Linked DNA regions of Homo sapiens: region 1 is linked to region 2. The links are contacts of gene promoters, found by promoter capture Hi-C in blood cells and fetal thymus (Javierre and others, 2016). All regions are on one chromosome and are shown on one strand. The core of a region is centred on a gene start or on the middle of the fragment in contact, and the rest is flanking DNA. Distances in the headings are between cores, read along the strand shown.

Region 1 (6,220 bases), core at 776-3,275, 1.2 Mb before region 2:
CTGTGGAGGCAGCATTTTGATCATTGCCCCGTATCCCCTGAGTAATGACAGCTCTGTGTAATTCACAGCATTTCTCATGGGAGGTTTATTGCTCTACTGGCTAGCCAAGGGACCAGTGTGAAATTCACCGAGGTCCTGTGCTGCTGAAATATGAGAAAGGTGAGAAAGGATTATAGCGCAGGAGAGTGGAAGCCCAAATGTCCATCTCTGAAAACATCCAGTTCCTTGGTGATTTCTTCAAGAAAAGAGAGACTATCTCTTTTGTTAAGAACCAAAAAGAGATAAATTTACTCACCAACGGTCTCCTACTATTAAGAATTCTTTGAAAGATTCATGATTATTCTTTTAAATACTCAAAGCATTTAAATATGTGTATAATATAGAAATGAGCCATTTATTCTGAATAACAGAGAGAAGTTGAAAAGTATTTATTACCTTCTGCCTAAGGGGGTGATCTCCTTGATTAACGTGCAAAGTAATGGGGAAAAAGTCTAATGTGTACTTTTTTTTTTATTTCTTTCAGAGCATTAACCCCATTCTAGTTGGTCATTAAAAAGTAGTATGTGTGTGTGTCTCTCTCTCTTTCTCTCTCGCTCTTTCTCTCTCTCTCTCTTGCTCACACACTGTCTGTGCTGCAATATTTCTTTATAACAAACTGGCCTCAGGAAATTATTAATGAAGGGTTAAGAGGTTACACAGCAGCTAAGCCCAGAAGAATGTCTGTGCAAAGAGAGAACTACCTATTCAGAAGGGAGGAGAATTGTTTGGGGAGGACTGGTAGTTTGAAAAGGAATTTCTTCCTAGCCAAGAAATTTTCTACACTGTGCAAAGCCAAAATAAAATGAGTCATAGCACTTCACATTTCCTAAGTGTGTATTACTAGAATGACTTTTGACTTTCTATGGAAATCAAAGACTGCACAAATGAGAAAACAGAACTGTTTCCCCTTCCCCTACGTCCCCTTGAGGACATACCTGAGATGATATAGGGTCAGTCCTGGCAGAAGCTGTTAAGAATTGGGTCACATATATTTGTAACTTACAGCTTTACCTTCAGGAAAACAAGCAGTAAGCATAACAGGAAATAAAAATAGCTTCACTCAAAGGTACATAAGCAACAGCATGTCCAACAACCACCAGCACTACCTATGACATTTTTCCTAGGCTATATATGCTATCAGAAACAGTCATATGTTTTAATCAATGATTATGAAGGGGTCTCGAGTATGACACCCTAAAATATGCCTTTCTGGCATAAGGATTATTTTGAGCTGAAGACAAGTAAGAATAAACAGATTTGGGAAAAGTTCTCCGTTCTCCAGTTATCTGCCGAAAAGTAGTACATAAATTTTCCTTTTTGAAGATGACATAAATGCCCCCTTTCCCTCCATTCCAGGATGAGGAAAGTGACCCTTAGCACAGACAAACAGCTGGCGCTGGAATGAGACTGTATATGCAGACTTAACTAAAATAACCTTACTAAAATAACATTATCTGTTATGATTAGATAATAATATTAGTTTCCCCATGTTTTTTGGTCACTTTCCCAAACTTCATTGGCGCTAGAAGCTCAAATCCCCTTTCCATTGTCTAGTCACTCCTCCACAATTTATCACCATTCATTAAAACGGTATAGAAAATCCCAAGTCTAACTGCTTTTTAAGATTTTCACATCCTTACTTTGAAGCCCTTATGCACACAAAATTTAAAATATTAATAAAATTAATATGCCTTTTCTCCTGTTACTCTGTCTTTTGTCAGTTTAATTTGTAGTTTAACTTCTAAACCTAAGAGGTAGAAGAAAAGTTCTTTTTTTTTCCTCTCCACTATAGTTCAATAAGCAATTTGAAAGCAGTGTTAAATCAGAAAAAAAATCTATTTATACCCACAAATACACAGAACTTCCAAATGTTTATAATTGTTGAATTGCTAAATGACTACAAATTTATGAAATAAATAAGAAAAAAATTCTAGAAATTGGCAAAAAGAGCAAAAGTAAAATGACAATTGATATAACAGACAAAATCAGCAGTTCACATTTTTCTTCATGTAAAAATTCACTTATTGAATCTTTCAATTTCAGAGTAACTACCAAGCCCTGATCTAGGCGCTATGGATATGACAGTTTATAACCTAAACAAGGAGAAAGGAAAATATATACTTCTCTTTCACCTCACTGTATTTTTATCTCCAGAGGTAGATGCTTCTTACACCCTTCTCTTCATTCACTAAACAAATAATGTTAAGAGTACCTACTGCCTGCCAGGCAAGGTTCTAGATCCTGAAGATAAAGCAGTAGGAGAAAATAAATAAACCTCCAATAACAACAACTAAAATTTCAGGCTTCATGTATCTTACATTCCAGTGACTTAATAAAACAACGCTCGTGATCACAACAGTGTTTAAATTTATTCAATCAGATTTCATTGTGAGGCTTCATTCTCTCTATAATCAATGCAGGCAAATAGTTTAAAGAAAATTCATAATATACATGTTCCTGTATTTATATATAATTGCTTGTAAATATGCCAGGATCAATTTTTTTAATTTTTGAAACCATTATTGACCATATAAGTTGTGATTGTGGAGTTTTAATATTTTTGTTTCTTACTGAATGGTCTGTTGGCAAAGGCAGGTCTCCCCTTTGAGACTGACGCATGGGGCAGAAATTAACCAGGATTTCTGAGTGGTTTCATTTTCAAGGTCACAATATAAATTTATCAAACACAATTCAAATGGTGTATGACAATGAAAAGAGGGCATCCTCTGTCTCTCTTCCAGAGCCAGTCTTAATTTTGTGATACTATTCTGGACAGAGAAAGGTCCTTCTTAATTTAGCTAAAATCTGAGCCTGAATATCCACTCTACCTTATAGAAAAAAAAAAAAAAACAAAAAACCCTCGTTTTCTTTGAAAGACTTCATTGCACAAGGGATCAAGTTAAGTCTTTCCTAAACTCACAGATACAATCAGCCTCCAATATGCTCCACATACACAAACTCTGAGCCATTTCAAGCATAAATTTTAGAAGTAAAGAAAGTTCCAGTGAATGCCTAAATAGATAGGAAAAAAGAGTATTCTTCTTCCAAGAACACTTTTCTGATTCAAACTTTCTTCCCCAAAATTAGGGCAGTGACAACCATTAGTCATATTAGCTTATTTGGGATATAAACTGTTTTAATATGTACACTAAAACAAAACAAAATGTGTCCTCTTTATAGCATAAGACACAATATATTTAGGCAAAGGAATGCATCTGCTGGATTTTAAAATACTAGTGTTTCAAATAATCAAAACTGTATTTCTAGACCTTTTGCTACATACCTGATTCTACCAATATCCTCTTTGTGCTTAAAGAAGTCATGAAACAGTCAGAAACAAAGAATTTCAAGTCACAAACTAATGATGGAATTAACCTAAATTATAGATTAGCTATTACACACTGGCATTCAATGATACTGCCAAGTTTCTTCAAAATGTAATACTTATTTGTTGTTATTAAACCGCTGGGGTAAATGGCAACATTTATCACTACGTAGAAAATCAAACAGAAATCATTAAGAACATTTTAATGAAAGTGTGGAGTTTTTTTGTTACTCACTGAAATTATTGGCAGCACTGAAACAAAATCTATTAATGTTTTAAGATATGAACTATGCTTTAACCTGGTATCTACTGCAGTACAAAGAGCTAAGTCACACACAAAACGTGAAAATCAATTTTGGCAACTAGACTAAAATGTAAATACCACAGGCCAATTCTCCCCAATGCCTAAGATATTTCCTGATAAATGAGATTCCTAGCACTAAACATTTAACAAATTGATCTACTAATGGACTGCAAAAGCCAGTAACCTTCCTCAACCTTCTAGTAACACCAAGTAAATTTCCTTGGTATTGTTTACTAATCTGTACAGGATTTAAACACCCTAAGTAATCTGTTTTTATTTTTCCAGCACCAAAATTAGACATAAACAGATCAGTGAAAAATTTGTGATCATTTTCAAATTTGGGGCATAAAAAACACTGAATAACTAGTCTGAAAGAATATGATACAGAAAAGTTTGTTTTCTCTTTCATCTAGGTTTAAGACAATTATTTACAAATAAAACATAATGAATTTTGTCTTTTTATGAAAACACCAAGGGAAATCTTAATAAAATGTTTGGAGTACCAACAAAAAGCCTAAGCACAATGTTTAAATAACTGAACTCAAGAAATAAAATGACTTCTTAAATATCTTGGATTCTATCCCTTAAGTAAAAGGATTTACATAGTCAAGCTTCATTTGCTTACTTGGGAGTTACTCTTCCAAAATGTCTTTTATCCTGTAAACGAGAAAGCCTCCCTTCTTGCACAAAACATTCCTCATTTTCCAGTCACCAATTGTTTTGAAAAACTTTCCCTTGACAGAGATATAGGACCACCTCTCAAAGAGCCAAATCAAACAGCCAACTTACTAAAGACACCTAGCAATCTGGTTACTGTCCAAGTTGTTTTCTAGACTAAAGTCAACTAATGGTAAAGGGATCAGAAGGAGTCTGAGATTCTAAAAAGGTTCATTAAGAACGTATTCACATTCAGCAAATGTGATATGCTATTTGGTTTTTCTATTATCTTTCTCATTTATATTGCTGTACAAGTGCATGACGATGTTACTATAATTTAAGTTACTAGATATCTTTGTCTTGAAAAAGTAGAGAAAAAAAGATGTACTCTCAATAGTGGTTCTGAAACTTCATTGTTCTTAAAATTTTACCGGACGATAAATACTTTAGAATGATAATACTTTCAAAGTTTCTATAAAAAGACATAAAACATGACTTCTTACCAACAGTATGTGTGTCTGTTTTTGACCAAAGTGGTGAAACCCAGGTTCTCTAAGAGCATAAGACGTAAGATACGAACATTGAGCTTTACCCATCTAAGAAGCAGTCTATGTTCACTATCAATAATCAATACCCCCAACTCACCCCAGCTCAGAAACTAAGAATACCAGGACACAATGGCCTGGATACATTACATATGAAAGCACAAAACCATTCTCTATCCTCACTAAATGCCATTCCTTCTCATTCTGGCTGACTTCAAATATGAATATAAATTAAGACAATTCACTCTGCCTCATATAGAGAAACAAAATGAACATGAAAATAAATAGTCTGGTCTCTAGGGGTACTGAACATTTCTATTGCCTTAAATTTACTGGGAAACATAGGCATAACCTTGTGCAGTCTGGGCACCATACTTACGTAAATAGCAGAGGGTTATGGTTTCAATTTGGTTGTGACACCATAAATATTGGCATACCGAACATGTGCTTACTGTCATGAATTTTGAACTCTCTCTCCAGGGTCTGCTTCTGTTTTGTCCACATGCCAGAACTAAGGACTATTTAGTTCTGCCCATAATCTCATAGGATCAGAGCTGAGAAAATCAACTTTATTTCCAAGGGAAAAAAAACTATATTCTTTGAGTGACTTTTTAAAAGACTGACTTTTTCAAGATTTTTGCCTTCTCTGGGATAAATCACAGTTGTCAATCTCAAAACCTCAAAGCAAAAGAGAAAAACAAACTAAAAATAAGAAAGCACATGAGTTATATCTTATGTTAACTAGAAAGAGCAAAAGGGGAAATAATTCAAAACAAAAAATACGTCAAAGTTACTGAAAATGAACTTGCGATGGTCATGCTCTTCTCTATAATAAATTGATTGCAATAAAACTTTATCCTAAAGTTCCCTGTTTAAAAATAAGTTTCCTGGAAATGATACATTTTTTTTTCTTATTGAGGAAATAACATTCTAAGCAGTCATCATTATAATTTTGCCAATCATGTTCTTTGTGCATTCATTTTACTCAGTCTAAGCAAAAAGATTGAGGCTCTCCAGTTAGCCCCTTGTAGTTCCTTAAAATGAAGCCAGACGTTAGGCGCATCCCCCAGCTGTGAAATAAGGCATATGACTCGTTTAGAACCCATCAATGATGATTTATGACACCAGATGCCAAGACTGCAGCAGAACAAGCTGTGTTGGGTCTAAGTGGGCTGTTTTCACTTCACTTAAAAGATCTGCCATCCAGTGGGGCATTAGGCTAGAGATTATTCAACATTTTATTCTCTGACACTTGAAAATTATGGGAGATTAAAACACATATATAATTAGAATCCAAGGTAGAAAGTGGTCAATTCTGCACTATTCTGAGAGTTTAGAGAAGAGAGACAT
Region 2 (6,448 bases), core at 3,579-6,078:
TAGTATAGCTTTATTAGTTTATTTCCATCACCACTACCATATGAAAGGAGAGAGAAATATCCAGGCTATATTGAGATCATAAACCCCGCCTTCAAATGAATTTTTGTTCTCAAAGATGCTGGAAATTCAGAGCAAAGAATTAAATATCTAAGAGGGATTGGGATTACAAAAGTTTAATTGAGCAGTTTTAGTCATAGTCCTATCACGTAACGAAGTAACACATGAGACTTGGAGATTATGTGAGGAATTCAATGAACTTGGTACCTCATGTGCTTGGTACAATAATAATAATAATAACCAATATTTATTGAAGGTTTATCTTGTGGCAAATACTGGTTCTAAGTGTTTTCCCTGTATTAACTAACAACAATCTCATATGGTAGGCAGTATTGTCATTTTACAGCTGAGGAAACTGAGGCATAAAGAGACATGGCAACATTTCCAAGTCGTATGATTGGTAAGTTCAAACCTAGTCAGTCCAACTCCACGGCCCAGGCTCTTAGCCACTACTGCATTCTCCCAATACAGTAGTCTAAGAGCGTCTAAGGGAAGCTCAAAGGACATATCAGAGAACTCTGCCTCAGGATATACACAGGAGTTCATCTTCTCCTCTCTGGGGCCTTTATGACATGAAAATGAATGGGATTTCAGCATAACAAGGGGGATCCTGTGCTCTACTCTGCTCAGAACAGTCAGTGTGGGCCTGTTGTCCCAATGCCCACCAGCATCTCCTTTCACGCCACACGGTTCCAGTTTGGATAATAAGTTACATATTCACCTAAGTCCAGTGGCTAAGAAGTTATGTTCTGAAGTTTGCTGGGTCTATAGTCAAAACCCAGCTTAGCCACCTACTAGCTGTGGGAGTTGAGGCCAATTACTTTGTCTCAATAAGCCTCAATTTTCTCATCTACTAAATGGAAATAATAATAGTCCCCACTTCATAGCATTGTTATGAAAATTCTAGGAGCCAACACATATGAATCAATTTGTATAATCCTTAGCAAATTGTGGGCACCCAATAAAAATTCATTTTTATCAACATTAGATTAAATGTTTGAGAAGGTTTCTTACATTGGCATAACTGTGGTGGACTGCTTTATAAACTTGAGACATCAAAGCATACCTGTGAATCTGGAGCACTTAGACAAGAACCACCATCAGTAGGGAATGTCCAATTTTTCTAAGTAAATCACTGGTACTTCCAGGGGTATCCATTTTAAAATGAAATTATAATGCTAAAGCCATTGGAAATGCAGTTGGGTCTCAGCCACTCCCAGGGATTTTAATCCATTCCATTCTAGGCTCCCTGGGAACCTCACTGAAATGCTAAATTTCATGGTAACATGGAGAAAGTTAAGTATCCTTTCAGCTTATAATCTCTTTGGGGTACATTTTAGCCTCTTGGGCCAATCTGGATTCAAAGTTGTAACTTCTGGCATCATTCTGCATTCAAACATAAGCCACTGACTCACTGTACTTTGTATTCGAGCCCTGGAATAGCTTTAATATTCAGAGAATATCCTTTATATGGCATGGGCATGACCGCAGACCAGTCCTTTTGCTGGCAACTGCAGTAACTGGCTACATGTGTTAGAACCTGCCAAAATGTTTGTCACCCAAGACGGGAGAATCTTGAAAGACAGACTCAATAGATCATAGTCAGGGGCTTGATAAAACCACACAGCTAGTTAGTATACATACTGAACAAATCACCAATTTTTGCTCATTCTTTTTATTTGTTAAATAAAGAGGTTAAATCCATTGAAAAAAAAAGGGGGGGTTAAACCTAACATGGTCTGGCTCTGCGCGGCTTAAGAAGATTCCATCTGCTCAAGAACGATAACCCGCTTCCCCCTTACTTTTAAAAACTTCTACTTCCTCCCATAGTAACCTATTTAATAGTATGCCTGACTGTCAGCAAGTTCTTTGCCTCCAGCCTAGCTTCCTCTCCTCATCATGCAAATTGCCGTTGGCTTTAATTAGATTTAATAAGCCACTGGGAAGTGAAGCGAGGGAAATGGAGAGCAAAGATTATACAGTATGGGCTTACTCTTGCATGTCCAATACAGCATTTCCCTGGAACTCTCATATCCTCCCAGGCTGGGAAAATAAAGAATGCCAAGCGCATGGAAAGACACGCTGCTGCTGCTGCTGTCCAAATGTGAACCGTGGGTGGAGAAAAATCATTTAGAAAAAGAGAGTGAGGGAAAAAAGAAAATGAACCAGAATCCCCAACAGCTGCAAATAACGAAGCATGTGAATCTGTTACCTTGGATGAACTCTGCTTTCCTGCTCACAGACGGCAGGGTCCTGTTGAGCCCCAGGATCCTGTCTAGGTGGAAGGCAAACACCTCACTCATGTCCAAGGGCTGCTTGAGAAGCCCACAGGGGCTAGGGCCACAGCGGAGCACAGCGCCAGGTGCGCCCCCCTCCAGCACCAGCAAACGGGCTCCGCTCCTAGAGGACACAGGCCGGAGCCCTGCCACTGCGCTGTCCGCCAAGAGTCGCATTCTTCGGATGTCATCTTTGCTCAGCCAGGAGGGGGCGCTCTCGCTGTAGATCCTAATGTTGCTCTCCCTGGAGCTGGGCTGCAGGAAGTCTGGGCCCCCGGCTCGCACTCCCGGACCCCGCACCAACCTCCAGGGTCGCTCTCCAATCTTAACCAGGTTTGCTCCCTGAGCGTACCCAGGTGCTACAGCATCAGCTTCCCTTGCCGCTTCCTGCGGCTGAAGGGATGGTCCGACCAAAGCCTCCTGCCCTGGGGCAGCCGATGCCACTGCATGCTTTTTCCTGCGCTTGGGCTTCACGGTGCCACGGATATTGGCCGGCTTGCTGCGCTTGGAGCGTAGGGTAATGTACACCACATTGGGCTGCAGAGTGGACCCATTGCCCTGGGACTCTGGAGGGGCCAGGGTACCATCCAGGGGTATCTCAGGGAAGGATGGCTCGGCGGTGTCGCGGCTGCGATGTGGCCCCTTCTCAGCCGCCTGTCCATGCTGGAGAGAGGCCCTCCCCACCTGGCTCACCAGGAAGCCCAAGTAGATGGCACACGCAGTGCCCAGCAGAAGGTTTCTCCGGGTCCTTGGACGCCGGCTGCTCCAGAGCTTACGCACCCGCGGGACGCACAGGGAGCAGATGAACCAGTTTATGAGCTGCCCCGGCTTGTCTGGACAGGTCATTTCTCTGCCGCATCCACATGTTGAACGGAGTTTAAAGTCTGCAGTTGGCTCCTGCTAATGTGATGCATGGTTTCCTGACTTCAGCTGCCGCGTCCGCTTCGGGATATAAGTGGTCTCCAGTGGGCAGAGGTGGAAGGAAAGGGTTGGTGATGAAGCTGGGAATGTTTCTGACACAACAAACCTTTTAAATTATCAGTCTCCCCAAGGAGAAATGCGGCTTGTTTCTGGGAATGAATGGATACAGAGTTAACTGAGTCACAATTTCAAACCATTTAAGTTCCTCTACAAGAGTCAAGAAAAAAAGTAATCATTTCCTTTCATAAATATCACCACTAAATGTTTTTAAAAATAAAATTTAAAAGCATGCAAACGAGATAGATGTATAGATTTGATAGTCACTTGAAAGTAGTGAAAACAAGCCACAAAAATCCAAGAGTGTTTTATAACTTGTACCTAGAGTCATTTAAGTTGACTCTGAAGCAAAAGCGTTAAAATGTGACAAACCTGGGCTTTTCCTTTTTGAAATTCAGAAAGAACTTAAGACAAGTAATAGATAATTTTTTAATACTCTATACCTATACCATTTTTATTTTTTAAAGTCCTGAATTAACTAAGTACAAGCAGCAAGTATTAACAATAAAATTTAGAAACATATTCTCTTAGTCTAAAGGTACAAATTGTACTTCATATTAATAATATGTTCCATTAGCTTACATTGTTAGTATAATACAAAGCCATAAATGTCCATATATCTTGGAAGCAGTTGCATTTATTCTGTTTCTCTCTCTCTCTCTCTTTCTCTCTCTCTCACACACATACACACACACAACACAACACAACTCTGACTGCTTTTTATTTCTTTTCTTTCCACCGAAGTCAGCTGAAAGAAAATAAAAGCATCTCTAGTTCTGTTTTTTCACTATTAAAAAGAAAAAGAAGAAACTCGTAAGCAACCTTACTTACACAGCTGGCCCCATGCTTGGCTCCAGGAAGAATGTAATCCTTGACTCTAATGCAAAGAACTTTTAAAGGCTGAGGCATGTAAGTAGAACATATTTCATGGTCAAGAGTGTTCCACATTTCAAACATTTCAGTTCAGCTTTAAAAGCTCCCTTGAAAACTACTGATTGCAAAGCAAAACTTGGAAACTGACTGCTGCATGGTTTTAAGAGATACAAAGCTTTTAAAAACAATAGTTAACAAAATAAACTTTAATTTTAAATTCGGAAAAAAGAAATGCCGTAGAGAATCAGTTTTCATTCAAATAAATTTCCACTTATTTTTAACCCCTGGGAGCCCTCTAGTGTCCTGTTCGCAAACAGACTCAGAAATGTCAGTCTCATGAAGTTCAAAAGATCGAGAATGTTTGCTATCTTGGTGGAGCAGCCGCAGCCAAGCAAGTAACTTGTAAAATGAGGAATGCCATCACCCCTCGAGTGTCCATCCCACATAACTTGGGGTTAGAGCACAAGCGTTCCCAGGAACTACTCACCTTACCATCTTGGCCGTTTCATTTGTCTTCCACCAGTTCTGGAAAGAGAAGGCCTAGAAGTTCAGAAAAAAAGGTAAGAAAGAGTTAATATAAATGAGGAGAAAAAATAGAACAGTGAGATAAGAGTACACACAGATAAGGAAAGACATTTATAGTGTGCAATTGCACGGTGCAACAGTTCACAAAAGGAAGTCGTGGATTCTCTCTGATTGGAGGTTTTTTGAAAAAACAGGTTAGGGATTGGCCTGGGTGGTTTGCGTGTCCTAGCACAAAGGCAGGGGCTGATGACCTTGGGGTGTCAATTAGACTATGGCAAATAGAATCAAAAGGCAAGAAGACAGAAAGGGGACAGGGATTTTTCCTCCCCACAGAGAAAGAAAGTTGTGATACTGAAGAGTGGGTAAAAGATTAGCATATGGTGTATAATCCTAAAAATACTATATTTTACAATGCAAAAAGAGCAAGGAGTTGGAATATATAGGGAAGGAGAGAATAAACGTCCAAGTGGTAAATTGACAAAAATTATAATCGGGCTGTTATTTCAGCACTCTAAACTCAGTCCTTTTTTCCTCTTTAAAAGTCCTGCCACATGGAGGAATGAGAAGGAGCAATCCCAATATTGACAGTAGCCTGGAAGTACCTGGATATTTTGGCTAAACTTTGTGAGAATTCAGGCATCAAAACAATTTTATCTGCACTCAAAAACTCTTAGGCACACACTTCCATACACACAGAATTATTTTCTTGATAGAAAATGTGAACTTCTTGCAAGGAAACCATACCAAAGCTGCATTTTATAACCATCTTATTATTTCCACAGTCAAAGGAATAACTGACCTGGCTCTATAACAATTAAAAGTAAGCCTTTGGCAGAGGCCAGTTATAATAAGCAGACATCTCCTCTAGCTGTTTTTAGAGCTATTTTTTTCATGGAGAAATGCCTACGAGATAGGGAGAGTTGTGTGAGTTAGTAAATTTCGTTGACTACCTTCCCACCCCCACTCCAAAAATGTCTCCTAGAAAAAGAACAATACACTGTCCCCTGCTATAGCCACAATAGGGATTCGTGGAGGCTACACTATCTACTCTGAACTATGATATTCAGAGAATGGGCTGAAGAGGGAGGCAGACTGGCTTTAAATTCTCCTCATTTACCTCTTACGTGTGGTCCCCTGTGGCAAGTAATCTTACCTCTCTAAGCCTCAGTTTCCCCCATGTGTAAGAAAAGAAAAATAATAGCACTTACCCTATCGGTTTCTTCTGATGACTGAATGAGATAGCAGCCTTGGAATGATCATTTGAAATATTCAGCAATGTGTTTGTTTTTATCCCCCATGATGCCTCATTAAACTGCTCAGAGGCCTCTCTCCTCAGCCCAGGCCTTGACAGATAGTCACCACTGCACCACAGCAAAGCAATCATGGTAGAATTGAGGACAAGCACACTGAATTATTTGTAGCCAACATATTGATATAGCCAATACAGTGGATAAATGGGGCTTGTCAGATATAATCAGAGCACAATTTTAGTGATTCCCCCCACTGCCCATTGAAACCTGTTCTGTGGCCTGATATCTCTTTTCAACTTTCTTAAATGGAAACTCAGGCAGTCCCCATGACTTTTCCAGTCATACTTAAATTTTTGTAAAAGTTCTCCAGTTGTTAGCCATAGACATACAGACACATAATACACATAAACTAATTAATATGTTTGATTCTATATCACAGTCAATTTCTTTAAAAATTTCTTTTAAATTCCCAGAATTTCTCCAGAAGAT

What was found. The method cuts DNA at HindIII sites, captures the fragments that hold promoters and counts their contacts. A CHiCAGO score of 5 or more calls a contact.
Region 1: a contact is called between a fragment that was not itself captured here and the fragment with the promoter of GASK1B in region 2, in 1 of 17 cell types (M0 macrophages). The highest score is 5.2, in M0 macrophages.

What each region holds. Positions count from the first base shown.
Region 1 is chr4:156,948,858-156,955,077 of GRCh38, forward strand. All of the region lies in intron 1 of PDGFC (platelet derived growth factor C), which reads right to left. Among named protein-coding and RNA genes, the nearest start is that of PDGFC, 20 kb to the right of the region's middle. The HindIII fragment of the contact is 4,504 bases long and covers 1-4,277 here.
Region 2 is chr4:158,168,197-158,174,644 of GRCh38, forward strand. It overlaps GASK1B (golgi associated kinase 1B), which reads right to left and starts at 4,829. Exons shown (of 5, transcript NM_001128424.2): 1 at 4,672-4,829; 2 at 2,270-3,403. The coding sequence starts at 3,179. GASK1B-AS1 (GASK1B antisense RNA 1) reads left to right here and starts at 2,556. Exons shown (of 5, transcript NR_147410.1): 1 at 2,556-3,284. It overlaps LOC101928007 (a long non-coding RNA gene), which reads right to left. Exons shown (of 4, transcript XR_007058350.1): 3 at 5,918-6,070; 4 at 5,492-5,612. RefSeq lists enhancers at 2,312-2,832, 3,006-4,205. The HindIII fragment of the contact is 3,483 bases long and covers 4,358-6,448 here.